Regions from separate parts of the Homo sapiens genome. Here regions 2, 3 and 4 are each linked to region 1. Evidence: promoter capture Hi-C in 16 types of primary human blood cells and fetal thymus (Javierre and others, 2016). All regions are on one chromosome and are shown on one strand. The core of a region is centred on a gene start or on the middle of the fragment in contact, and the rest is flanking DNA. Distances in the headings are between cores, read along the strand shown.

Region 1 (6,803 bases), core at 891-3,390:
GGGGGGCAGGAGGTGTAAGGTGAGGGGAGGGAGAGCATGCAGGCAGGTATACAAACCCTGATTCGGTTCTCTCCTGAGGTCAGGGTCCTGTGCTCTGGGACTCTTCACTAGAACTTTATAGATGTTTCCAACAGTACCAAAGCCCTCACGTGTGGCCGCCCATTCTCGCACCTTGGTTCACTCATTCTGGCCCAGAATAAGCACCTGCCTGTCTTCCCAGCCTGTGGGCCCCTTGGTCTTTCTCTCTCCTAGTCTTTACTAACTGTTGCCTTAGCCCTTGGTTAAAGACTTAGGCAGAAAATACATTTTCTTCAGGCAATCTGACAGCTGGAGCCAATGGGAAATGGGTAGCATGTCAGAGGAGCCTGATTCCTGGGCTGGGCAGGGCTGTGTGGTAGGGTGAGAGCAACGGCCACAACGAACAGCAGAAGGGGGACTCTTATTTTTAACAGCTGTGCTTTGGGGCACAAGGCAGAAAATGTTTCTTTCTACCTTCTCCCAGGGGCAGGGACAAACAGCAGTGACTCTGTGGGTGACTGAAGATGAAGTAATTGCTGGGTTCTGATTAGGAATAGAGGAAGATTGCCTTCTGCCCACGCGCCAGCCTCCGAGTGGCTGAAGGTGCTGGAGGCAGAGGATAAGAAGGGAGGTGGCCCCTGTTGGCTCCGATAAGCAGGTGAGCTGCTGCTTTCTCCTTCATAGGGCTTCCCAGCCCACTGTGGGTGGTTAGCCTAAGTCTGGTTCAGAGATGCCAGCTGGGCACTCTGGCAATGCTAGAGCACTAAGCAGAGAAGAGGCAGTGTTGGCTCTGGTTAGCCAGGGCATACAGGCTCTCCTCGTCCTGTCCTCCGCAGTGGCCACAGGCACCCAGCTGTTCCACTCTCTCTGAAGGCCGCCAGGCAGTCTCTCCGCAAAACCTCCATAGAGACTATCTTCAGTTTCAGGTCCTCTCCTCCGGGCTGGGTCCCAGGAAGACACCTTGGGCTGAGTTCAGGGTGACATTGGGCTCCGGCTGCAGGAAACGGGCCCTCCTTGCCAAGAGACCACCTTTCAGTCTCTGCTTCACAGGTTTGCCTTCAACTTTGCCAGCGAGTTCCCCTCTGACATGCACCACCTTGAAACACCTTCTTCAAGGGGCATGGAGAATGGGGCAGCTTGGGTCCCCAATCCTGAGCTCCTTCTCCAGCCTCCGGCCGTCACGCCTCCCTCCCTCTCCCCTAATTCCCAGTCAAGCCAAGGAAAGGCTGCACAGAAGGCCAGAGAATCACAAAGGGGAGTAGGGGTCATTTTTTCACCCATCTCGGATCACAGGGAGAAGCAAGTTGGGCAAATGACTGGAGAAAAAACAAAGGCAAGCCGAGTGCTGGGGAGAGATGTTCCCCTGAAGTGAGACGGGGCTGGACCGTAGGAGAAAGGGGAGAGGGAGGGCTGGCGGGGGCAACTGACAGCTGACAGCAGAGGCGCCGAGGCGGAGGCTGGAGGAACCAGGTGCGAATCTCGTGCTTCTCAGGGGGGAAAAGAAAAGGGGGGGGACACCTGCTCACAATGGATTTTCTCATCTGCTCTGAGGTTTTGGCACCCCCCAGGCTGGTATTCTCAGTATGGTATGGTCCAAATAATTAGCAGCACCGCCAGCTCCCAGGGCAGGCTTTGGGGGTCTGCACCAGCAGCAAAACAATAAACAGTGATGCCTGATGCTGCAGCCAAAGTTGCCGGGAAATAAGTGCGGGAATCGTCAGAGCTTGGAGAGGGATGGAGGAACCGAGAGAGAGGAGCGGAGGCAGCGGGGAGGGGGAAGGGAGGACAAAGGGTGGATGAATAATGCTTTTGCAAAGGGGAGAAAGCAACACGCAGCAGGAGGAGGAAATTTGCAAAGAGAAAAAAATTCATTTGGAGAAGGGCTGCCCCCTCACCTTGAGGTCTGCTCCAGAGATCTCCGTCTATCTCTCTCTCTCTCTCTCAATCTCTCAATCTCTCTGCTCACTCTTCTCTCTTCTCTTTCCGCTCCTTCAATTGGGAAGGGGATGGGGGTGGGTGGGGGGAGGGTAGTTGGGGGCTCAAGACTGGGGCTGCAAAGCTGGCCAGCTGCTGGGGGGGCAGAGGTTGTCTCTCGTTCTGTACCTCGGTCTGTGGGTGAATGTGGCTGTGTGTTGTGGAACTGCATCATAACACTGTGAGTCATCCATCCCCCCCACCCCCCCTCACCTCCCACGTCAGAGCAGGGCTGGGAGACACAGGAGGCGGGTCGGAAGGAAGGGAGGGGGTAGGCATCAAGGGACGGGGCTAGAGGAGTGGGGGCCGAGGGACAAGGCGGCGATGGTGGGCAAGGGGAGAGGCAGGTTGTTAAGGAGGAAGGCAGTGGGGCCAAGGAGATACGAAGAACCTGGGGGAAGGACAGGGCTGGGCAAGGATGCAGTGAGGGTGGCAGGGCTGGAGGAAAGGAGGTGGCAAGGCTGGTGAAGGAAGAGATGGATGCAGAGTGAGGGAGCACACACACATTTAAGATGATACACTTTCCCATTTCAGCTTGGACACCAGCCCTGAAGCAGGGAAAAGACAGATGTACTAATTGTCATGGATGGCAAACTGTGCCCCCAAACTTGTACCAAGCCTCAAAGCCTTGGTTTAATACTCCTGAAGGAGTAATAGACCCAATGTGACATTTTGCATGCAGGAACCCCTTAACAGCTACCTCCATATTATGCGTGCTTCATGAATGGAGACACCTACGTTATATGAAGTTCTCTATTGGGCTGTAAACTTCCTGAGACAGGCCTTCTGGGAAATTACTCTCTACATCCCAGGACTGCAATGTCCAGTGCAGACCCGTGCATTTAGATGTTTCCAAAATAGCAGTTGTTTCCGCGGCATTATGTTCTGCTGGCCTAGAGGTCTTAGTTCCAGAGGGAGGAATGCTGCCACCAAGAGACACAACAATGATTCCATTAAACTGGAAGTTAAGATTGCCACCTGGCCACTTTGGGCTCTTCTTACTTTTAAGCCAACTTGCTAAGAAGGGAGTTACAGTGTTTGACCCAGACTATCAAGATGAAATCAGTCTACTACTCCACAATGGCGGTAAGGAAGTATGCGTGGAATACAGGAGATCACGTAGGGCGTCTCTTAATATTACCATGCCCTGTGATTAAGGTCAATGGGAAACTGCAACAGCCCAATCCAGGCAGGATGACAAATGGCCCAGACCCTTCAGGAATGAAGGTTTGGGTCACTCCACCAGGTAAAAAAAACATAATCTGCTGAGGTGCTTGCTGAAGGCAAACGGAATTCAGAATGGGTAGTCAAAGAAGGTAGTCATCAATACGAACTATGACCATGTGACCAGCTGCAGAAAATGAGGACTGTAATTGTCATGAGTATTTCCTCCTCCTTTTGTTAGGAACATGTTTGTGCATATATACACTTGTATTAAGAAAATATCTTCATTTTATTTCCTTTCTTTTGCCTTTATCATGTGACATAAGACTTACTGACTTGATATCAGCACTTAAGTGTTGTTAACTCTATGTAATAGCATTTGGGTTGGGGATTGGTGCGTTTCCGGTTGTACAAAGGATAGCTGTATTATGTTAAGCGTAATTATGACCTTATTATTGTCTTTATTTGAAGATCATGTATGATTTCAGGAGACGTGTATGGGTTCAAGTTGACAAGGGGTGGACTGGTGATGGTTAATATTGTCAACTAGATTGGATTGAAAGATGCAAAGTATTGTTCCTGGGTGTGTCTGTGAGGGTATTGCCAAAGGCGATTAACATTTGAGTCAATGGACTAGGAAAGGCAGACCCACCTCAATCTGGATGGGCACAATGTAATCAACTGTCAGCTAGGCCAGAATAAAAGCAGACAGAAGAACGTGGAAAGACCAGACTGGTTTAGCCTCTGAGCCTACGTCTTTCTCCCATGCTGGACGCTTCCTGCCCTCGAATATTGAACTCCAAGGTCTTCAACTTTGGGATTCGGACTGGCTTCCTTGCCCCTCAGCTTGCAGGCAGCCTACTGTGGGACCTCATCTGGTGATCATCTGAGTCAATATTCCGTAATAACTCTGATTTATATATACATCTATCCTATTAGTTCTATCCCGCTAGAGAACTCTGATTAATAGAGCAGTTGAGTTGCATCTTCAGACATGAACCAAGTGTCTGGCTTTGGTCTCAAAGAGACTGAATTAGACTCTTAGCTCTGCCAATTACTTGGCAGGAACCACTAGGCAAATTACTGATAATCTTTGTGCCTTAGTCTTACTCTTCTGCTAAATGAAGCTAATAATATTTATTATTATTAGCTCATGGAGATGCAGAATAAAGTGAGATAACATTTAAATGCCTGAAAAATGCCTGGCACATGATAGGCAGTAAACAGTAGTGTCATTTCAAAACAACATTCTCGCCAGGTGCGGTGGTTCACGCCTGTAATCCCAGCACTTTGGGAGGCCGAGGCAGGCAGATCACAAGGTCAGGAGATCGAGACCATCCTGGCCAACATGGTGAAATCCCCATCCCTAATAAATAACAAAAATTAGCTGGACATGGTGGCACGTGCCTGTAATCCCAGCTACTCGAGAGCCTGAGGCAGGAGAATCGCTTGAACAGGAAGTCAGAGGTTGCGGTAAGCTGAGATGGCGCCACTGTACTCACAGAGGTTGCAGTGAGCCGATCGCGCCAGCCTGGTGACAGAGCGAGACTCTGTTTCAAAAAAAAAAAAAGCATTCTTGGCTGGGTGAGGTGGCTCACACCTTGTAATCCCAGCACTTTGGGAGGCCGAGGTAGGCGAATCACCTGAGGTTGGGAGTTCGAGACCAGCCTGGACAACGTGGTGAAACCCCCCTCTCTACTAAAAATACAAAAAATTAGCCAGGTGTGATGGCGTATGCCTGTAATCACAGCTACTTGGGAGGCTGAGGCAGAAGAATCGCTTGAACCCAGGAGGCGGAGGTTGCAGTGAGCCAAGATGGGACCACTGCACTCTAGCCTGGGCAACAAAGAGAGACTCCGTCTCAAAAAAAAAAACAAAACCAAAAAAACAAAAGTGAAACCAAAACAGCATTCTCAATGTATGACCCCCAAAACCCAGGGAGGATTTATTATTAAATTCTGATATCTCAAGAGACACATGCCAAATTTTTGTCTTATGAAGACATTACATCTTTTGTTGCTATTTTTCTAGCAGCTTCCAGTTAAATTTCATTTGACTCAGAATTCATTTCTCATGGGGTGCTGTCCTGTGCATGTTACTAAAGTATGTGAACACAGAACATATCCCCTAAGACAAAAACCCTGATTTCTAACAGAGTCTAGCATTTAGCAAATGAAGTACGACAAAGATAGGGACTTCTAGAAAGCAGTGCTTGGGGGTGGTTTGTTTTTCTTCTCACACGTAAAGAGGGAAAAAAAAGTTAAGGCAGAGAAATGTGGGTAATGGGAGACATTGCTAGTTGAGCATGAAAATAAAAAGGGATTCTAAATATTTAATCAGGGAAGATTCTGGGGTTTAAAGTAAATTCTGAAAAGACAATGTGGGTGTCTTGAGGGATAGTACTAGAGATTTGGAATTGAGAGAAAAAGCTAGGTAAAGAAAGAAGAGAGAAGTGCTTTTGTTTGGGCAGCAGAAGAGAGGGGAGATAAAAGTAGAACACATGGACACAGGAAGGGGAACATCACGCACTGGGGCCTGTTGAGGGGTGGGGGGAGGGGAGAGGGATAGCATTAGGAGATATACCTAATGCTAAATGACGAGTTAATGGGTGCAGTACACCAATATGGCACATGTATACATATGTAACAAACCTGCACGTTGTGCACCACATGTACCCTAAAACTTAAAGTATAATAATAATAAAATTTAAAAAAAAAAGAAAAAAAAAGATTTTGAAAAGCAATTGTTGAGGAGAACAATGAGAAGTGGGAAAAGGCAAATGATTAGTTTTCAAGGCATGGATCGAAAGTTCTTTTGTTTTGTTTGTTTGTTTGTTTGTTCTTTGAAATGGAATCTCGCTCTGTTTCCCAGGCTGGAGTGCAATGCCATGATCGAGAATCACTGCAACCTCCGGCTCCCGGGTTCAAGTGATTCTCCCACCTCAGCTTCCTGAGTAGCTGGGATTACAGGCATGTGCCACCATGCCTGGCTAATTTTTGTATTTTTCGTAGAGACGGGATTTCACCATGTTGGTCATGCCGGTCTCGAACTCCTGATCTCAAGTGATCCACCCACCCTGGCCTCCCAAGGTGCTGGGATTACAGGCGTGAGTCACTGGGCCCAGCTCGGATTCAAAGTTTGGAAGCAGGCCGGACACCTGTAATCCCAGCACTTTGGGAGGCTGAGGCGGGCAGATGACCCTGAGGTCAGGGGTTCAAGACCATCCTGGCTAACATGACAAAACTCCTTCTCTACTAAACATACAAAAATTAGCTGGGCATGGCAGCGGGCGCCTGTAATCTCAGCTACTTGGGAGGCTGAGGCGGGAGAATTGCTTGAACCCGGAAGGCGCAGGCTGCAGTGAGCCGAGATTGCGCCACTTCACTCCAGCCTGGGCAACAAGAACGAAACTATGTCTCAAGAAAAAGAAAGAAAGAGAGAGAGAGAAAGAAAGAAAGAAAGAAAGTTTGGAAGCAAAAAGAAAATGATCAAGGATCTAGCTGGAGAGGAGAAAAAGAACATATGATGACGGTATTGTTTGGAGGTGGGGTGGAGATGGCAGGAGTGCTTGGTGAAAGATTAAAACTGAGAAAAGAGCTGGGCGCCGTGGCTCACGCCTGTAATCCCGACATTTTGGGAGACCGAGG
Region 2 (6,803 bases), core at 4,304-6,803, 240 kb before region 1:
CTCCTACAAGGACACCCAATCTAAGAACGTGATAACAGGACCCAGATCTGTCTGCCTGCACTCTTCCCCAGCCCAGGGCTCTGAAAGGAATTCATAGCCCTGCCCCTGGTAATTGACATTTCTGTGTGCTTGGATTCTCTCCATTGACTGCTGGGGAGACAAAAGTATCGCAAAAATTGAATATGAAGATTGATATTTTTCATTGACTTTGGCTTAAGATTTGGGGTAACTCGAAAGTCTTTTTTTTTTTTTGCCTTTGAAGTTTTCCCATTCCAAGTAATAAAGAACTTGTGTTGTTTTGTTCGGTGGAGACAAGCTAAAGCGAGTGCTTGCAGGGAGGTTTTCTATCCTGAACTATAATAGTGGCATTCCAGACTCCACAAGGTGTGAAGTGTGGTGCACGCTCTGAAGGGCACACAGATGTTACTAATAACACCTGCAGCCACACACAGCACACCTGCTACAAGCCAGGTGGTTTATATTGATCACTCACTACATGCCAGGTCCCCTTTGAAGTGCTTGACGTTCATCCAGCCACTCAATCCTTACAACTCTATAAAGTATTCCTATTGTTACTCCATTTTACAGATGAAGCAGCGGAGGTACCAGGAATCTAAGTGCCAGAGCTTGTGTGGGGAGGAACTGGAAGTTGGTCTTGGACAGTCCATCTCCAGAGCCCAAGCTGCTGCTACCTTTTATTCCCAAGGTTACTCTCTAGTCCTTGCAACAAACTGCCGTGGTACCTATTTCCATTACAGGTGAGGAAACTGAGGTTCAGGGTGGTTAAGGTCACACAGCTGATCAGTGCCTGCAAAGCCCAGAGCTTTCCCACACACCCTACTGCTCTAGCCAGCCTGCAGGCCTGGGAGGTGACACTGGACCCAGGAAAGAATATGCTGAGGGGCCTGTGAGCAGATGTTTGGGATTAGAACATAAAAACTCAAAATTGGGCGGGCCACGGTGGCTCATGCCTGTAATCCCAGTATTTTGGGAGGCCGAGGCGGGAGGATCACGAGGTCAAGAGATCAAGACCATCCTGTCCAACATGGTGAAACACAGTCTCTATTAAAAATACAAAAATTAGCCGGGTGTGGTGGTGCACACCTGTAGTCCCAGCTACTCAGGAGGCTGAGACAGGAGAATCGCTTGAACCGGGAGGCGAAGGTTGCAGTGAGCTGAGATCGTGCCACTGCACTCCAGCCTGGCGACAGAGAGAGACTCTGTCTCAAAAAACAAACAAACAAACAAACAAACAAACAAAACACCTCAAAATCCCTGGAGGGTCTGGTGTGAACACAAGCCATGGTCCTGGGTTTAAGATACACTCAGACATTGTCCTGTCTGTGAACTCCTTATCACCAGAGGACTGGATCTTATGCCTGGAAGCCTGGATGGAAAATGTTCTTCCCAAAGAATGTCAGAGGAATGACTCACTGCTGTGCCCATGTCACACCTGAAGCATTTGAGAGTCATCAATCCCCTGAGGGGCTGGCAGGAAAAAGGGCTCCTAGACATAACCACTGGGACCATCACTCCAAGCTTTGAATTTGGGGAGGACTGCTTGAGCCTGGGAGGTCGAGGCTTCAGTGAGCCATGATCTTGCCACTACACTCCAGCCTGGGTGACAGAGTGAGACCCTATCTGAAACAAACAAACAAACAAACAAACAAAACCACGTGGCAGGAGGAAGGCTCTCAGGGCAGAAAGATGAGAGCTGTGCCTGTGGGTTGTTTCTCCTGCTTACTCCCTCTCGCCCATTTTCCCTAGAAATCATCTCTGATTCTCACAGAATAGAAGTGTTCTTAGCAGCACCTGGGCAGGACCTGCCAGCACCTTCAGCTAAAGTACAGTTAGCACCAGATTATGGATAGTGATTAGCGGGTATGAGGTCATTCTCTGGAATATCCCAAGGTGCTCTTTTGTGATAAGCCCACTTGACAACAGCTCGCCTTCTGAGTGTTTTTATTATTTGCACTCTCCAATCTGCTGACCAAGGCTGCCCTCTGGCTCACCGTCATCTAGGACCCCCACACAGGCAGGGAAGGGGAAAGGGAGTAGGGGGTGGATGGGGATAAACAAGGCGTGGCAGAACCACGAGATGGGGTTGTGAGCAGCCATTTAAAATCATGTTTTTGGCTACTATTTGATTACATAAGGAAAAGCTTATGAGATCATTTAAATTATCACATACATCCAGTCAAATGACGGGAGGGAACATACCAACATGTTAACCATGATTATCTCTGAGTGGTCCAATTAATGGTGATGCGTCTTTTTCATGTCCCTCTTTATTTTCTCGTCTGTTTTAAATGATATCTTTCTTACAAGAGAATAAATGCAGGCTGGGCATGGTGGCTCATGCCTGAAATCTTGGCACTTTTGGAGGCCGAGGCAGGGGGATTGCTTAAGGCCAGGAGTTCAAGGCTGCATTTAGGTATGATGATGCTGCATTCAACCTGGGCAATAGAGCAAGACCCCACCTCAAAAAAAAAAGAAGAAGAAGAAGAAAGAAGAAGAGGAAGAAGAAGAAGAAGAAGAAGAAGAAGAAGAGGAAGAAGAGGAAGAAGAGGAAGAAGAAAAGAAGAGGAAGAAGAGGAAGAAGAGGAAGAAGAGGAAGAAGAGGAAGAAGAAGAAGAAGAAGAAGAAGAAGAAGAAGAAGAAGAAGAAGAAGAAGAAGAAGAAGAAGAAGAAGAAGAAGAAGAAGAAGAAGAAGAAGAAGAAAAGAAGAAGAAATGTAAAGTAAAGGTAATGTCTAAATGAATGTGACCTTGGGAGCCAGACAGACCTGGTTTAAATACCAGCCCCACAATGTGCTAATGGGTGAACCTGACTTTCTTCATCTATGAAATGGGGCTGATCATATGCACTTCCCTGGGCTGAATAGGCTTAAAAGGGATCATCACACAATTCCTATTTTATGCTGTTGGCTGTCCCTTACACGGCATGTGTTCTCCCCCTGATGGAAGGGCCCAGCTTGGCACTGTGGGGGTGTGATGGGGGCCAATTCACCTCCAGTTCCTCTCTACTGAGGCTGGTTACAGGAGAGAAGGGTTGCATTGGAAGCCCGTTGCTGATTGAAATCAAAACTTGTGAAAGCTCTGAGTTGCTTGCTTCCTCATTGGTTCCACTTGAGGAAGAAGTTGCAGGAGGTGCCAGGTACAGTGGCTCACACCCATAATCCCAACACTTTGGGAGGCCAAGGTGGGAGGATCACTTGAGTCCAGGCGTTTGACACCAGCCTGAGCAACAGAGTGAGACTCCCCAATCTCTATAAATAAATAAATAAATAAATAAAAGATTAGCCAGATGTGGTGGCATGCGCCTGTAGTCCCAGCTACTCAGGAGCTCAAACAGGAGGATTGCTTGAGCCTGGCAGGTCGAGGCTGCAGTGAGCTGAGATCACACCACTGCACTCCAGCCAGGGTAACAGAGTGAGAACCTGTTTCAAAATAAATAAATAAATAAAGTTGCAGGAGGAAGGCTCTCAGGGCAGAACGATGAGAGTTGCGCACGTGGTCACTTCTCCCACTTACTCTCCTCTCGCCCATCTTCCCCAGAAATCATTTCTGATTCTCACAGAAGTCTACTGTACACTTCCTGGGGAATCCAGGCATCTTTTCTTCCTTTAAATAACAGTTTTATTGAGGTATAATTAACATACCATAAGTCCACCCATTTTCATCACCCCAAAAGAAACCCCTTCCCCATTAGCCATCACTACCCATGGCCTCCACACCCAGGCCTACCCAATCATGAATCTACTTTCTGCCTCTACAGATTGGCCTATTCTGGAAATTTCTTTTTTTCTTTTTCCTTTTTTTTTTTTTTTTTTGAGACGGAACCTCACTGTGTCATCCAGGCTGGAGTGCAGTGGCACGATCTTGGCTCACTGCAACCTCCACCTGCCAGGCTCAACCAATTCTTGTGCCTCAGCCAACCAAGTAGCTGGGATTACAGGTGCATGCCACTACACTCGGCTAATTTTTAGTAGAGACGGGGTTTCGCCATGTTGGCCAGGCTGGTCACGAACTCCTGGCCTCAAGTGATCTGCCCACCTTGGCATCCCAAAGTGCTGGGATTACAGGCATGAGCCACTGCACCCTGGCCCGATATTTCATATTTAAATGGAATCATTAGCAGTTTCTTGTGTCTGGCTTCTTTCACTTAGTCTAATGTTTTCAAGATTCATCCGTGTTGTAGCAGGTGTCAGTACTTTTTTTGATTGCCAAATAATATCCCAAATATGGTACATTTCCTTTGTCCGTTCACCAACTGGTGGACATTAGGCATCTTTTTTTGGCTTTAATATATCATCTGTAATGCTAGCTGTGATCTGTTCAACCCACCACATGCCAAGCACTCGACCTAATTTGTAATCCTTACAACAGCCCAGAGAGGCATGTCTATTTCTCCCACCATACTGACAAAGAAGTGGTCCATCCAAAGTCACAGAGCTGACAAAGTAAGTGACAGAGCTGAGATTTCCAGAAGGGTTTTTTTCCACTGCACCACACTGCACCTCCCCCACCCCCATGTGTTTTTCTGGCTCCTTCTAATTGGTTCTGAGGCCAAAACAAGAATCCACTCATTCAACGATCATTCATTCAACAAGAATTAGCTGGTACCATGTGGATGGTAAGCACAGATTAATTAGAGCCAGGCGAGAACAGACCTTGCCTCCTGGAGTATGCTGCCCAGGCAAGGGGTGGGAGGGTCATGATGTGGAGGCAAATGCCAGTCACCAGGAAGGGTGTGACCAAGTGCCAGGGACTCAGACATGCTGGAAAGCCTGAGTAATGATTTTTGGAGAAGATGACATTTTGAGCAGGATCCCAGCAGACCAGATGGATTTCACAAGCTGAGGCAGGGTGAGCCACCCACGCAGAGGAACTGGTGCACACACAGACCCAGAGACTGGGAATCTTGGTCCACAGGGGTGGGCTCTGCCCCGCTGTTGGTAGGAGGTAAAGAGGGAAGGGGAGAGGTTGAGATCACACTAGTGACAGCCTTGAATGCCAGGCTAGCATCTGGATTTTTGTCCTGTGGACAGTGGGGAGCTGCTGAAAGCTTTTGAGCAGGGTAACAAGACCAAATCCATCCATTAGATTTAAACGCTGCTAATAGACACCACTAGAACTTTGGTGTCCGCCCTCAGACCCAGGCTCCTGGCCCCTGGAAATTACACCCCGACATCCACAGGAAGAAGGAAGAGCTGGGTTTCAGACCCTTCTGCATCTTTATAGCCCCAGCACCCAGGACAGGGCCTGACACGTGGCAGGTGCTCAATAAACATTTGTTGAATGAATGGATGGATGAACCTGCCTGCCACCCCCTGCCTTCCACCCCCATCCCCCTGCCTCCCACTGTTCTTTCCTAGTCCCTCTCCTAGCAAGGTGGGAATGAGACAGCAGGTGTGCCCCAGATTCTCCCATCCCACCCACCTGCCATCTCTCCTCCTGCACCCTCAACTTCTCCCTCTTTGCCCCCGTCCTCCCCAAGGGTCATGAGTAAACACAGGAGCAAACCCTCATGTGCTCCTACCATGTGCTAGGCAGTTGCAATGACTTTACATTCTCACAATCGCCATCAGAGATAGAAATGATTAACTGCACTTTGCAGGTGGGGAACTAGTGACTCAGAGTGGTTAAGGGGCTTGCCCAGCTGCTGAGGGGCAGAATTGAAACTCAAACTAGGAATTTCTGATTCCATCCAGCGCTTCTAGCTGGGGGTGTGTAGTGAGGAGTAGGGTTCTGCTAAAGTTAGTTAAGGATGTGGAGAGGAAGAGGAAGCAGAGGGGTTCCTGGGGGAGGAAGTCTCTGGGCCCACATCCCAGGACCAGCGGGGTGAATCATAGTCAGGGTTCCTGCCCCACCTCTGGGTCCAGCTGCCACACTAGATGTGTAGCCAGATTCCCTACCCTCTCATGCCAGGGTAGGGCCTCCTCAGAAACATACACATACACACAAACACACACACACACACACACACAGCCCCGGCCCAAAGCCTAGAGAGATGGAAACAGTAGTTGCCTTAGACACAGAAGCTTTATTTTTCTATAAAATTATTCCCGAGAGAAATTTTCTTTTAAATGCCCAAAGTAAATAACTTATATCCCTTCTTGAAAACATCCCCAAAGATAGTCTGTCAGAAATCCTTCGGTCAAGCAGGTCAGCTGGCTCCCATGGCCCTTGGGGTGGCCTGACTCTGTCACTATTCCTAAAACCTTCTAGGACATCTGCTCCAGGAAGAACTTTCAACACCAAAATTCATCTCAATTTTACAGATGGGAAAAGTGATTCTGAGACCAGACCAGGGTCAGGCCAAGGTCATCCAGCATCAGTGGCTGGGCTGAGACTGGGCCCAGGGAACCCTGTCTGCTCCTCTTTTTCCCAGAGCTGTGAGTTCTCTAGCCAAGGCTGCACTCTTGAGGGAGAGCCAGGAAGCATAGCTGAGGCCATGACAACCTCACTCTTCACCTGAAAATTTAACCCGTGGCAGAGGATCCAGGCACATATAGGCTTCGGAGCCAAACAGGCCTAAAGAAATAGTTGACACACTTCCTCCCCCAGGTCATCTCCCCTGGAGTCAAGGGTCTGCCAAGGCTAAGTGCAAGGAGACACTTCTGTTTTGAAATAAAGAAGTTCCACATGCCTTTGCTTTGAGTCTGTGTGATATCAATCTGCTTGGCAACTGAGATTCTTTTCTTGCTGCGCAGACGTCCTTGTGTGTCTTTATTTTGTGTGTGTGTGTGTGTGTGTGTGTGTTTTGCTGGGATAGGCAAAGTCTTTTGGGACACGAGGTCC
Region 3 (6,803 bases), core at 1,046-3,545, 220 kb before region 1:
ATCTCACATGTGCCTCCCTGGGAGCACCTGCTCTGAGCTGTATCAGCCCCCAGCAGGCCGCTGATTACCACTGAGCCTGGCCACAGAGCACGAGATTAGGATGCAGCAACACACTGTGTGTGAGATCACGTCCCGAACCTTCTGACTCATCTGCACAGGAAACCCCCCCAGTCTCCCCTCCAGTCAGAAGGGACCTGAAATTCCACCAGTGGCAATACCAAAGAAACTTCCTATTAGCTAAGCCCCTAGGGAGTGATTGGCTGTTGGGGCGGGGAGGGGGGGCGGTGAGGAGGATGAGGATGAAGCCTGGGCAACCTGGATGTGAGGCTGTGCAGGGGATGAGGACAAGGATCCTTGGGGTGAAGGAAGAGAAGAGCAATTTTAGGTTTTGCTAATTTTGTAACCCTGGCTCCAAGCCAGCCCTTACAGGAAGTCACCCTGGCCTCCGGCTCAATTCAGCACGTGATAGGGAAGCCACATTTATGCAGAGCAGGGAACGAGGTAAGGAAATGGAAGTGGGGCTGTGGTGAAGTGGGCAAGTCTAGAGAGAGTCCCGCTGCCTGGGGCTGTTCCTAACAGCTGCTGGGAGCGAGCTGCAGGTGTGGTGCCTGGCAGGGTGGCCGGGCTGTCTGACTCTGGATTTCACTCCAAGCTAGGCTGCTGCCTGAAGGATTCCTCTTACCCACCTTTGCCTGGGCTGGCCTTTGGGACTTACATGGCTATGAGGCGTGCCACGGTGGTCTTGAACCGGTCAAAGATGTAGCCAGTGGGGAATGTCATGAAGTTGTTCATGAAGGACCCCAGGGTGAAGATGAGTGAGAACCTCTCATCCTGGGCTTTGCAGTCTGGAGTAGAAAAAAGGTCTCCCATGCATCCCAGCCTTCCTGCCAAATGAGCACACAGGCTGGGCTCCCCTCCACCTCAGACAGCTTGTCGGTCGCAAACTTGTCCCTTAAGCTGAGTTGAAATGTGGCTGCCCCTAATTACCCCTCAGGAGCTGGTGCCTCCCTCCCAGGCACTTCCCAGATCAAGTGGGGTGAGAGCTGCTGACCCTTCCTCTCATCATAGAAAGAGGGGTGGGCAGGGGGCAGAGTCCTTCCTGCTCCTTGCCACCACGTGGGAGCCAGACTTAACTTCCTTAGAAAAGTCATCCCTGCCCTTACCAGCCTGCCCTGTGGCATTGCCAATCGGCCCAGCATCTGGTCCACACAGATCCTTAAAGTAATCTTCATTCTTGAAGACAAACACTAGTGAAGGCCAGCCAAAGAGGACGCCAGCAAAGCCCAGGCATTCCAGCAGCCCAGTCAGCAGTGTGGCCACGTGCAGGGGCAGGCCCTGGCCCGCCATGAGCAGAAGTGGAGTGGATCTTCAAATCCCACTTTGTCCTCCTGGACGGATCACAGGCGCCGTAAGCCTGGCGTTTGAGCACTTGGAAAATTCCTCTGGCAAGCCAAGCCCTTCCTTTCCCGTAGCTCTCTGGTTGTTTCAGGCCTGGGCAAAAACCATCAGCGGGTGATTCTCTGGATCCTGTAGAATAAAGATAGAGGCTGCTGGAAGAGGAGGCCTGCGGGAAAGGGAAAGGTAGACTAGAGTTATTTGTGAGGTGCATTAAGAGGCAGGATGATCATGGCCGCTGGCAGCAAATGTGGGGAATAAATACTCCAATACATCATCTTAGGCACTGCATTTGAGTAACCACGTGGCAAGTAGAGAGGCAGGTCTTGATGGCCACCTGGAGTCACAGGTGAGATAAACGACTTACCCAATAGCTCCCCGGGAGCAGGTGGAGAAGCGGAGCTCCTGCGCTCGAATTCTGAATACCGTCCCCTAAAATAATGACAGCAACTCAACCAGGTGCAGAGGCAGGGAGATTTCATACAGAAGACACAAACTCCCGCTGCCAAGTTGGTGTTATCTTCAGTTTACTGACAATGAAACAAAAGCTCCCATGGATTTCAGGAACTTGCCCAAGGTCACAGGGCTAGTTTAGTCACGACGCAGGCCATTCTACTGCCAGAAATACCCCCAACTCCCATGACCCTCGCCTAGGACTCGCAAACCTGGTCCCCGCCGCCCTTCCTCGCATCAACTTCTACCAGGAAAGCCTCCGGGGGCCGCTCCCCGCCAGCCTCCGCACCCCGCTCCAGCCTGCGGCCTGCCCTCCCCGCAGAGGAGCCCGAGGGGCCAGGCCGCGCTCGGCGCCCCATGGCGCCCGAAAGGGGACCCTTCGCCCTACCCGCCTGCTCCGCGCCGGGGCTCTCCGCGCCCTTTCCGCACGGGCCAGGTTCGCATTCGCGCCTCTCGCAGCCCCTCCCAGTCCCCTGCTCGCCTCCGCCCCCTCCTGCCCGCCCGGAAGGGGCTGGGGCAGACCTCCCACTCTCCATCACTTCCTTCTTCTTTTCCCTTGCTCACAGCCTCCCGCGCCCTTTTTACCTCTCCCTCTTGAAACTTCTCCCTCTAGAACCCCCTAGAACCCCAGCGGTGTCTTTCCCTCCCTCCTCGCTGCCTTTCAGCCTCCCAGCCCCCTTGCCTCTGCCTCCCCTAACCAAGTTAGTTGAATGCTGTTACTCGCTCAGGCCCACCTAGGGAAAATGTCACACCCAGCACCCAGAGGACACACAGACAGCACATGAGGGCATAGGGACACACACACTCTATTTGTGCATTTTGCCTTGACCGCTGGGTTGGCAGGGAACATATTTTTCCTATTTGCTCACCAGCTTAACCGTCTCTCCCAGTTTCACACTCCCAGAGCTGCCAAAAAAATCCCAACCACAGAATCAGGAAGCCAAGAACCAGGACTGAGGGCTTTTCAGAAACCATCCCCTGGAGGACTGCCCCATATTTTCACTCCCAAAAACCCCTTAGATGACTCCCTGCCTCACCCCCGCCCCCCAGGTTCTGAAAGAGCCTTCCCGCCAGACTGCATTGATTAACCATTCATTGCCCCATTTTTTATTAATCAAAGACATATATAATTGCTCATCGGAGCTTGTGATCAGCGTGAGGCCTTACTAAGCAGCTGCCTTACTATCCTTCCAGCCCAGAGCACGTGAGCTGACGTCTTCTTTGGCCTGTGTGGCCGTTTCCTTGCCAAAAGCTCAGTTTGGGGAGAGCTTCTTGCGTATTAGATGCAGTCTGCAGACTCCCAACCCCAGCTACCTGGATCCCCTGAGGGCCCAGGAACTCCAGCTATTCCAAGCCCACTCCTCTTTTTTTTAAGAGGAAGAAATAGAGGTTACGATAGGGGACAGCCAGAACTGAGGATTTTCCAGCTCACCACCAAAGCACAAAAGATAAAAGTCTGCAACCACCCTAGTGACTTGACTGAATGGAGGAAGGGTGGCTGGGGTCCTGTACCCCAAGCTACTCACTAGTTATACAACCTGAGGCAAGCTCTTTGGCTGCCCCACCTGTAAGACGAGGACAATAGTACCTTAATTATAGGAATTGTCATAAAAGAAGTATAAGATGGGTGTATGAGGTCCCTGCATGGCGCAGGTGCTATAGGCAGATTGTAGGGTAGTAGATTTTCTAGTCTGCAGTTATGTAGACAGAGCCAGAGAAGCAGCTCTGGGGAGGAATTTCAAAGGAACTTGCCCACGGTCATTCTACAAAGCTGCAGTACCTTCCCAACTCTGAAACGTATGCTCTCATCACCCCGTCTTAACAAACATTTGGACATTAGAGAAAACAAGTCTTTTCTTAAAATAACATTATTTATGGGAGAAAATCCACAAAAATATAGCATCCCAGGACAAACAGGGCTTAAGATGCAAGATTTTCTATTTTACTGCAAGACACAAAGACTCTGAAATTAATGCATGCCCTATCTTCTGCTCTGGCATACATTTTAGTCTCCTGGGGGGATCAGTAAGTGTGGAAGTAGCAAGGGAGAAACAGAAAAAAGTCAAAGTAAAGAGACAGATTTTAGAATGTTAATCTGCAGGAGCCTGCCAGAAAGATCTAGCTCATGGGCTATCTGTACATCCAGGACTGAAGCACGGGACACGGGGCAGGTCGTCCAGGGTTCTGTCCACCTTATCTTGTTACCTCTCTTGACTCTTAGAGCCTCCACTCCACATCTCCCATCAATGTCTGCAGAAGACGTGGCCTCCACTAACACAAGTCTTACTGAACTGATGGGACAGGAAATTAGAATATCCTCTGAACCATTCCCATGTTCTTTGGTTCGAATTCCAGCAGCTAGAAAAGGCAGATGCTATTCTGATCACTCTCCTGCGTGGCTCCAATGAGGATTAATGAGTAACATCAGAGAGAGAAGTGATTATAATAAGGTCTGACGGTGCACCCGATGTCTTCATCCTTTTCTCTTCGCCTCCTTCCTCATCATCTCACACCTTTTTTTTTTTAATTGACTGATTGGTTCAACAAATACATGTGGTACCTCAGGCTCTGTGCCAAGTGCCGGGATTCGTAGAGAAGAGATTCAGTGCCTGCTCTCAAGGGGCTCATTCTCTTGTGGGAGAGACAGACAAAGAAACCCAAGATTTCTGGAGTGTGGGAATGGTCTTCCAGGCAGATGCTAGCACAGCACATTGAAAGGCACGGAACCTCAACAAAACAATAACATTTAGGAACCAGCTAGAGCACAGGGTGGTGAAGAAAGTGGAAAGATTTGAGGCCAGCGTCGCCATCTAAGTGAGGGCATTAAGAATTCAGCCCACATCAATCAATCATGTCCTATTGATTTCACCCCTTAATATCTCTCCTATCTATCCGTGGCCACTGCTCTATGCAGACACTCATCATCTCTCACAGAGGCATCATCTGCTTCCAAGCCATCGCCATTCTCCTGCAAGAGTTTATTTCCATGGTTCCCACTGGATGGCTTCACTTAACTGCTCAAAACCCTTCTGAGGTCCAGTCAACTGGCTGGTAAGGACCAGTCCAGGGTCTGGGGATGCCAGCCATGAGACATTGCTTTGAGGGGAAGAGGGAGCATAGAACTGGATCTCCTGCATCCTACTGCCCAAGTACCAATGCTGGAGGTGGTTTTCCTTCCCATCATCAGCAAGTCTGGATATCCAGGATCCACCCTATGGATGTTTTTATGGACAGAGTGGGAAGATGGATATGTTTAGGTTAGGGAAAGAGGGTTTGCCAAAGAGGGCAGTATAAGTGAGCTGCACTCCATCATTCCCCTGGCACAAACAATGGCTAGTATCCTCTAGTCCTCAAGAGCACCACCTTCCAATGCAGTCCCTGCCTGTCCACAGACCTCTCTCCTCAAACTTCCTCTGAACAACCTCAGCGAGGGCAATTGCCACTCTCTGGGCAGAGTCCAGATATTCTCTCCTACCCTCTGACATCACTTTCTAAATTTGTATATGTAGATAAACTCTGAGCCATTCACATAAAGGGCTTTGATTTCGGATACGCCAAACACATAAACAAACAAACATAAGCTTTCCTTTCACAATGGGCTCATGTAAATTAAAATGTTTGGTTTTCCACCTACGGTCTTGAAAGGGGTTTCTACAGCCTGTTTTGGAAGTCAGAAAGCAAAAGGTAAATGCAAACATCATTTCACCTGCAGAGAAAATTCTAATCCTCTTGAGGCAGTGCCAAAAATAATACAAGCACACTGCTATCGAGCCAATTACTGGTATCTCTGAGCTTCCGTCTCCTCATCTATAAAATTGGAATCGAGCTGTATGGATTAAAGATAATGTATGAAAACTGCCCAATTAGTACACTATTAATAAATAGCAGCTACTGTTGTTAACAAATATTATTGACTTACTGGAAAACAAAGAGGAAATAAAGTCACATTTAGGGAGAATTTCAAAGTGTTCCTAACCTAAAAAAGAAATAAATTAGGGGGAAAACCACTAAGTAATGGGTGAGCTCAGTTTACCTTGCTTAAGAAGTCCCACCCTAGAGAACTGATCTCTAGATGACACCCAAATGCACTCAGTACAACCCCCCAAGACTGTCTGGGCTTAAGGCAGGGGCTTGGATTGTCCTGTAAGCTGTGGGAAGTCTGTTCATGAGCCACAGTAGACAGGAAGGGGATGGAGTCTTAGAGCTGGCTCTTCAGGGTATCTCCTAGTGTGTTCAAAGCAGTTCTCAGGAGGGTGGGGAACTACTACATAGCCAAGTAAATATGAGGCCTCCTTGCTCTGGGGAGACCTTTCTCTTTAACAGAGGTGAATCTGAAAGGATACCCAAAGAGGCACTGGAGGGTGGGGGCCACTCTGGCCCCTCAGAGCAGCCAGCTCAGCTTCAGTGGATGCTAGAGGCAGCAGAGGATCAGCCTGGATCAGCCTCCCTTTCACCATGCAGAAAACAGAGCTCCCCCACCAGACCAGATACTGGAAGCACTGGGCCAGGCCTAAGAGAAAGCAGAGCCCCAAGCCCCACCACACCAGGGCTTATGAGGCTACTGCTACCCACCCTCCCAAGCCCCAGCTCCACTTCTATGTTCATCAAGCAACTGTTTACTGGTAACTGCACTTCCCGATAGACTTTGCTAGAAAGGAATGCCTCAGTGCACTGACAATATCTAAACCTGCAACTCTAAGGACTAGGCTGGGGAACACTGTGTCAACATGGAGGCACGTCCTACCCCTGAGAAGAAAAATAAGGAATATCAATAATACCTGCTGGGCACTGAGCACTGACTATGTATCTGATTCGAAGCGCTTTTTGCTTAATCTGTCACTGAATCTCACGATAGGTGTTGTTATTAGCATCTATTATCTGGGCCAACTGAGGCCTAGAGGGACGAAGCAACTCCCCCAACATCACCAGGTAGCAGTGTCAGGACTGGGATAGAA
Region 4 (6,803 bases), core at 2,718-5,217, 200 kb before region 1:
TTGAACCCAGGAGACAGAGCTTGCCGTGAGCCAAGATCATGCCATTGCACTCCAGCCTGGGCAACAAGAGTGAAACTCCATTTCAAAAAAATAAAAAATAAATAAAATAAAAACAATGTACACTTAGACTACACTAAGTTTATACAAAGATATTTTTCTTTGTTCGATAAAAAAATTAACCCTAGCTTACTTAGCTTTTTTACTTTATAAACTTTTAAATTTTTAAAAACTTTTGACTGTTTTGTAATAACACTTGGCTTGAAATACAAACATTGAACAGCTACACAAAAATATTTTCTTTCTTTATATCCTTATTCTTTAAGATTTTTTTTTCTTTTGAGACAGGGTTTCACTCTGTCACCCAAGCTGGAGTGCAGTGGCACAATCACTGCTCACTGCAGCCTCAACCACCTGGGGTCAAGTGATCCTCCCACCTCAGCCCCTCGATTAGCTGGAACTATAGCCGCATGCCACCACACCCGGCTAATTTTTGTATTTTTTGTAGAGATGGGGTTTCACCATGTTGCCCAGGCTGGTCTTGAACTCCTGAGCTCAAGCAATCCACCCACCTTGGCCTCCCCGAATGGTGGGATTACAGGTGTGAGCCATTGTTCCTGGGCAGCTTTTTTCTATTTAAAAATTTTTGTATTTTATTTTAACTTTTTAAACTTTCTTGTTAAAAGCAAAGACACAAACACACACATTAGCCTAGGCCTACACTGGGTCCTATCATCAATATCACTGTCTTCCACTTCCACACTAGAAGGTTTTCAGGGACAATAATATGCACGGAGCTGTCATCTCCTATGATAACAATGTCTTCTGGAATATCTGTTGAAGGACCTGCCCGAGGCTGTTTGACAGTTAGCTTTTTTTTATAAGTATAAGGCGTACACTCTAAAATAATTATAAATAGGCCATGCGTGGTGGCTCACGCCTGTAATCCCAGCACTTTGGGAAGCCGAGGCGGGGTGATCACTTGAGGTCAGTAGTTCAAGACCAGCCTGGCCAACATGGTGAAACCCCATCTCTACTAAAAATACAAAACATATTAGCAGGGTGTCATGGTGCACACCTGTAATCCCAGCTACTCAGGAGACTGAGGCAGGAGAATCACTTGAACCCAGGAAGCGGAGGTTGCGGTGAGCCAAGATCGCGCCACTGCACTCCAGCCTGGGTGACAGAATGAGACTCTGTCTCAAAAATAAAATAAAGATAAATAATATAGTAAATATATAAACCAGTAATATAGTTATGTATTATCATTATCAGATATTATGTACTATATATAACTGTATGTGCTATTCTTTTATATCACTGGCAGTGCAGTAGGTGTGTTTACACCAGCATTGCCACAAACATATAACTAATGCATTGCGCTACAACATCAGGACCACTACACCATAGACAATAGGAATGTTTCAGCTCCATTATAATCTTATGGGACTACCACTGTATATGTGGTCTGTCCTTGACCAAAATGTCATTATGGGGCACTTAACTGTATTAAAGGAAAACAAAACTTAAGCTTAACCAATCAGAAACAGCCAACAAACTTAAAATTATAGAACTAGGAACTTTCAAATGGAATAGACCAAATAAGGCAACTGTATAACTGTAACCAATCAAATAACGTTTCGAGCCAGGGTCTCACTCTGTTGACCAGGCTGGAGTGCAGTGGCAAAATCACAGCTCACTGCAGCCTTGACCTTCTGCAAGTCAAGTGATCCTCCCACCTTGGCCTCCCAAAGTTTTATTAGTTGTGAGTCATTGTGCCCAGCCCAAATAATTTCTTTATCATGCTTCCACATTTCCGTCGTAAATACTGGTCTCTGACGCTTTGTCATCTGAGCGGTCTCACCACTGCTCTATCCTGTCCTTATGCATCACCCCATACCAGCTCCCTTACTCTCATAACTGCCTTATGAACTATGTGTTATCCCCGTTCTAGAAATAAGGAAATAAAGTCCTAGAGAGGTGAAAGAACTTGGGCTCAGTGAAGCCATTGAAATACGTCATGACTGAAAAACTACCTCTGAAACTACCCCAATTCGTGGATTGCTTAAAAAAGAAAACTTAAACTCTATAAAATTTTATTGTGCCTCAGATTTTTCTCTAACAACATGCACACTCCCTCATAACAATATGAGGGCAGGGACCTTTAGTCACTTATTCAGCAACTGTGGGTGGAGTGACTGTTGTATGCCAGGGACTAAGCCAGGGGCTGCAGACACCACACTAAATAAAAAGGCAAAAATTTCTATTCTCATGGAGTTTACATTCTAGTAGAGGAAGACAGACAATACACAGTAAGCCTAGTAAATAAATAACTTATGTAGTATGTTAGGAGGTCTTGAGTGCTATGGGGAAGAAAAAGTAGAGCTGAGTGGGCCAGGTGGAGGAGTAGAGTATGGAGGTCAGGGAGGCCTCATTGAAAAGGGAAACTGGCTGGGCGCCGTGGCTCACGCCTGTAATCCCAGCACTGTGGGAGGCCGAAGCGGGCGGATCACAAGGTCAGGAGTTCAAGACCAGCCTGGCCAATATGGTGAAACCCAGTCTCTACTAAAAACACAAAAATTAGCCGGGCATGGTGGCAGGCGCCTGTAGTCCCAGCTACTCGGGAGGCTGAGGCAGGAGAATCGCTTGAACCCAGGAGGCAGAGGTTGCAGTGAGCTGAGATCGCACCACTGCACTCCAGCCTGGGTAACAGAGTGAGACTCTGTCTCAAAAAAAAAAAAAGAAAGAAAGAAAGAAAAGAAAAAAAACGAAAGAGAAAAGAAAAGGGGAATTATGAGCAAAACCTTTAAGAAACCAAGGACTTGGCAGAGATCTGCCTGGTCCCTGCTAGATCTCCAGCCCCTGGCCCCGTGCTCAGCACCCAGTAGTTGTTTCATAAATTATTAAACAGATGAGCCAGGAGCAGTGGCTCATGCCTACAATCCCAGCATTTTGGGAGGCAAAGGCAGGCATATTGCTTGAGTTCAGGAATTCCAGACTAGCATGGGCATCATGACGAAACCCCATCTCTACAAAAAATGCAAAAATTAACTGAGCGTGGTGGCATGCACCTTTAGTTCTAGCTACTTGGGAGGCTGAGGTAGGAGGATCACTTGAGCATGGGAGGGTCACTTGAGCCTGGGAGGTTGAGGCTGCCATGAGCCATGATCAAACCACTGCACTCCAGTCTGGGTGACAGAGTGAGACTGTCTTAAAATAAAATTTAAAAAAAATCAAAAACCAGATGAATAGGTAGATAAATGGATGGACAGTCTTTCTTTTTCTACATTTGATGTCCAACCAAGACACTGTGACCTGGACCTAGGGATATGGGATAGACATTGTGTTTTGTATCTCCCAAAATGTCTCTTTCCTACTTCCCACTGTTCAGAATAATGTAGCTTGGAGTTTGATCTCATCTGCAGAGCTGCCCTGATGAGCCCAAGACAATCATGACAGTATCACACTCCTTGCCCAAGACTGGCTCAGGAACCCTGACTTAAGACAATCAGTGTATATTACCTTCCTGGTGACAGTCATTGGCTTCAGGTGGGTGGACCTAAGCAATCCCAGACAGAAAGGAAACTCTTTCATTCCATGACTGGGGAAGGGCCACTTTCTACTTCTGAAGATGAACAGGGAGGCAGGCAGCGTCTGCTGGCCCAGCAGCCAACTTGTAATCAAGACAAGAACAATCTGGCTTAGGATGAAGCTGGCCCTGCAGACAGAGGTGCCGAGACAGAAAGAACCTGGGTCTTTGATGACATCGTTAAGCCCTGGATCAACCAACCTTGGAGTCCCCTACCTCTGGGCTTGCTGCTGCCTGAGATGGATAATATAATAGATCTTCTTACTGTTTAAGCCAGTTAGAGCTGGGTTTTCTTTCTTTTTTTTTTTTTCGTTTGAGATGGAGTCTCGCTCTGTTGCCCAGGCTGGAGTGCAGTGGTGCGATCTCGGCTCACTGCAAACTCCACCTCCCGGTTTCAAGTGATTCTCGTGCCTCAGCCTCCTGAGTAGCTCAGATTACAGGCACACACCACCACGCCCAGCTAATTTTGTATTTTTAGTAGAGGTGGGGTTTCACCACGTTGGTCAGGCTGGTCTTGAACTCCTGACCTCGTGATCCACCTGCCTCAGCCTCCCAAAGTGCTGGGATTATAGGCATGACCCACCGCGCCCGGCCAGGGCTGGGTTTTCTATAACTTGCACTCTCCAAATATTGTAACTGATGAGGGACATTCCTTCCACTCCCACTGTGTGCTGATTTGATAAGTGTCACCCTCGCAGGTCAACTTTTCGCTTTTTGAGTGGTCTCACCATTGCTCTATCCTGTCCTTATGCACCACCCGGTACCAGCTCCCTTAATCTCACAACCACCTTAGAAAATATGTGTTATCCCTCTTCTAGAAACAAGGAAATAAAGTCCTAGAGAGGCGAGGGAACTTGGGCTCAGTGAAGCCACTGAAATATATCTTGACTGAAAAACTATCTCTGAAACCATCACCAACTACTGGTCAGAGAAAGGAGAAGATAACATCTTCTACTGAAAAAAGAAAAAGAGAGGGAGTACCTAGGTCCCAAAGGTGTGTGGAAGCGGCATTCAGACCTTGACATCTTAAGCTCTCCCACCTGGGTCCACTGATGCTGAGCCTGGATGTATTAGGCTGTTCTTGCATCGCTGTAGAGAAATACCTGAGACTGGGTAATTTATCAAGAAAATAAGCCTCCTGGCTGGGCACGGTGTCTCACGCCTGTAATCCCAGTACTTTGGGAGGCTGAGGTGGGTGGATCACCTGAGGTTGGGAGTTCTAGACCAGCCTGGCCAACATGGCGAAACCCTGTCTCTACTAAAAATACAAAAATTAGCCAGGTGTGGTGCGGGCGCCTGTAATCCCAGCTACTCGGGAGGCTGAGGCAGGAGAAATGCTTGAACCTGGGAGGCAGAGGTTGCAGTAAGCCGAGATTGTACCACTGCACTCCAGCCTGGGCAACAGAGCCAGACTCCATCTCAAAAAAAAAAAGAAGAAAGAGAGAGAGACAGAGAGAGAGTCAGAGAGAGAAGAAGAAGAAAAAGAAGGAGGAGGAGGAGAAGAAAGAAGAAAGAAAAAAGAAAGAAAGAAGGAAAAGAAAAGACAAGAAGGAAGGGAAAGAGAGAAAGAGAAAGGAAGAAACAAAGAGAAAGAAAGGAAGAAAAGAAAGGAAGGAAGGGAAAGAAAGAAAGAGAAAAGAAAGAAAGAAGGAAAAGAAAAGAAGGAAGGGAAAGAGAGAGAGAAAGAGAAAGAAAGAAGAAAAAGAAGGAAGGGAAAGAGAGAAAGAGAGAAAGAAAGAAAGAGAAAGAAAGAGAAAAAGAAAGAGAAAGAAAGAAGGAAAGAAAGAAAGAAAGAAAGAAAGAAAGAAAGAAAGAAAGAAAGAAAGAAAGAAGGAAAGAAAGAAAGAAAGAAAAAGCAAGCAAGCAAGCAAGCAAGCCTCCTACCCATTAACGGAGTGCCTAGCGGGGCTGATGTGGTCATGTCGGTGAGAGGCAACACTGGGAGAAGTTAGAATTCTCCATGATCTCTGTTACTCATATTCCCAAACCTCTCAAATTAGCCTGAGGCTCATGGTTCTGCAGGCTATACAGAAAGCATGGCGCCAGCATCTGCTCAGCTTCTGGGAGGCCTCAGGAAGTTTTACTCATGGCAGAAGGTGAAGCAGGAGTAGGCGTGTCACATGGCCAGAGCCGAAGCAGAAGAGCAAAAGAGAGTTGGTGGACAGAGGTGCCACACACCCTTTTTTTTTTTTTTTTTTGAGACGGAGTTTGGCTCTTGTTGCCCAAGCTGGAGTGCAGTGGTGCGATATCTCAGCTCACTGCAACCTCCGCCTCCCGGGTTCAAGCGATTCTTCTGCCTCCACCTCCCAAGTAGCTGGGATTTCAGGCATGCGCCACCACGTCCGGCTAATTTTTGTATTTTTGGTAGAGACAGGGTTTTGCCATGTTGGCCAAGCTGGTCTCAAACTCCCGACCTCAGGTGATCCACCCGCCTCGGCCTCCCAAAGTGCTGGGATTACAGGCATGAGCCACCATGCCAGGCCCCACACACCTTTTAAACAACCAGATTTCATCCATCGGGAAGTGCCTGTGGGGCTGGTGTGGACATGTGGGTGAAGGTGGCACTGGGAGAAGTTAGGATTCTCCATGACCTCTGTTACTCATATTCCCACACTCCTCAAATTAGCCTGAGTCTCGAGGACAGTCTGATGGCTGGGCAAACCCTGCGGCAAACCATTCCCCAGCCCTGCCCTCTCAACCAGAGTCCTTCCGATACATGATTCTGGGCAGCTGTTGTTACCCGTGTCCTCCATGTTCTTCCAGAGATATCCATGCATGCATTGGCATATGTGTATAATTATTATATCTATATTTCATCCCACAAGCTTTTGACATCAATAGTAGCATATTATTAAATTGTTCTGTACATTATTTTATTAACTTGGTATCTCTGGTACTGCTCAATATAAGAACATATAGACCTGGCCAGGCACAGTGGCTCACATCTGTAATCCCAGCATTTTGGGAGGCTGAGATGGGTGGATCACTTGAGGTCAGGAGTTCGAAACCAGCCTGGCCATCATGGTGAAACCCCCATTTCTACTAAAAATACAAAAATTAGCCAGGTGTGGTGGCAGGCGCCTGTAATCCCAGCTACTTGGGAGGCTGAGGCAGGAGAATTGCTTGAACCTGGGAGGCAGATGTTGCAGTAAGCCGAGATCACGCCACTGCACTCCAGGGTAGGCAACAAAGCGAGACTCTGTCTCAATAAAAAAAA

The links. The method cuts DNA at HindIII sites, captures the fragments that hold promoters and counts their contacts. A CHiCAGO score of 5 or more calls a contact.
Region 2: a fragment that was not itself captured here is called in contact with the fragment with the promoter of YPEL4 in region 1 in 2 of 17 cell types (M0 macrophages and activated CD4 T cells); the score reaches 6.2 in M0 macrophages.
Region 3: a contact is called between the fragment with the promoter of SLC43A3 here and the fragment with the promoter of YPEL4 in region 1, in 9 of 17 cell types (monocytes, activated CD4 T cells, neutrophils and 6 more). The highest score is 9.8, in monocytes.
Region 4: a fragment that was not itself captured here is called in contact with the fragment with the promoter of YPEL4 in region 1 in 6 of 17 cell types (neutrophils, activated CD4 T cells, M2 macrophages and 3 more); the score reaches 11.0 in neutrophils.

Annotation. Positions count from the first base shown.
Region 1 is chr11:57,647,772-57,654,574 of GRCh38, forward strand. It overlaps YPEL4 (yippee like 4), which reads right to left and starts at 2,141. Exons shown (of 5, transcript NM_145008.3): 1 at 1,914-2,141. It overlaps MIR130AHG (MIR130A host gene), which reads left to right. Exons shown (of 2, transcript NR_186232.1): 2 at 2,527-5,130. RefSeq lists an enhancer at 513-652. The HindIII fragment of the contact is 14,007 bases long and covers 1-6,803 here.
Region 2 is chr11:57,400,929-57,407,731 of GRCh38, forward strand. SLC43A3 (solute carrier family 43 member 3) reads right to left here. Exons shown (of 14, transcript NM_199329.3): 14 at 6,026-6,803. Among named protein-coding and RNA genes, the nearest start is that of PRG2, 14 kb to the left of the region's middle. The HindIII fragment of the contact is 976 bases long and covers 5,066-6,041 here.
Region 3 is chr11:57,424,826-57,431,628 of GRCh38, forward strand. It overlaps SLC43A3 (solute carrier family 43 member 3), which reads right to left and starts at 2,296. Exons shown (of 14, transcript NM_199329.3): 1 at 2,237-2,296; 2 at 1,763-1,827; 3 at 1,164-1,527; 4 at 716-845. The coding sequence starts at 1,347. RefSeq lists enhancers at 228-1,020, 713-1,912, 1,021-1,813 and a silencer at 2,056-2,415. The HindIII fragment of the contact is 9,438 bases long and covers 1-5,427 here.
Region 4 is chr11:57,442,773-57,449,575 of GRCh38, forward strand. No RefSeq gene overlaps it. Among named protein-coding and RNA genes, the nearest start is that of RTN4RL2, 14 kb to the right of the region's middle. The HindIII fragment of the contact is 4,883 bases long and covers 1,527-6,409 here.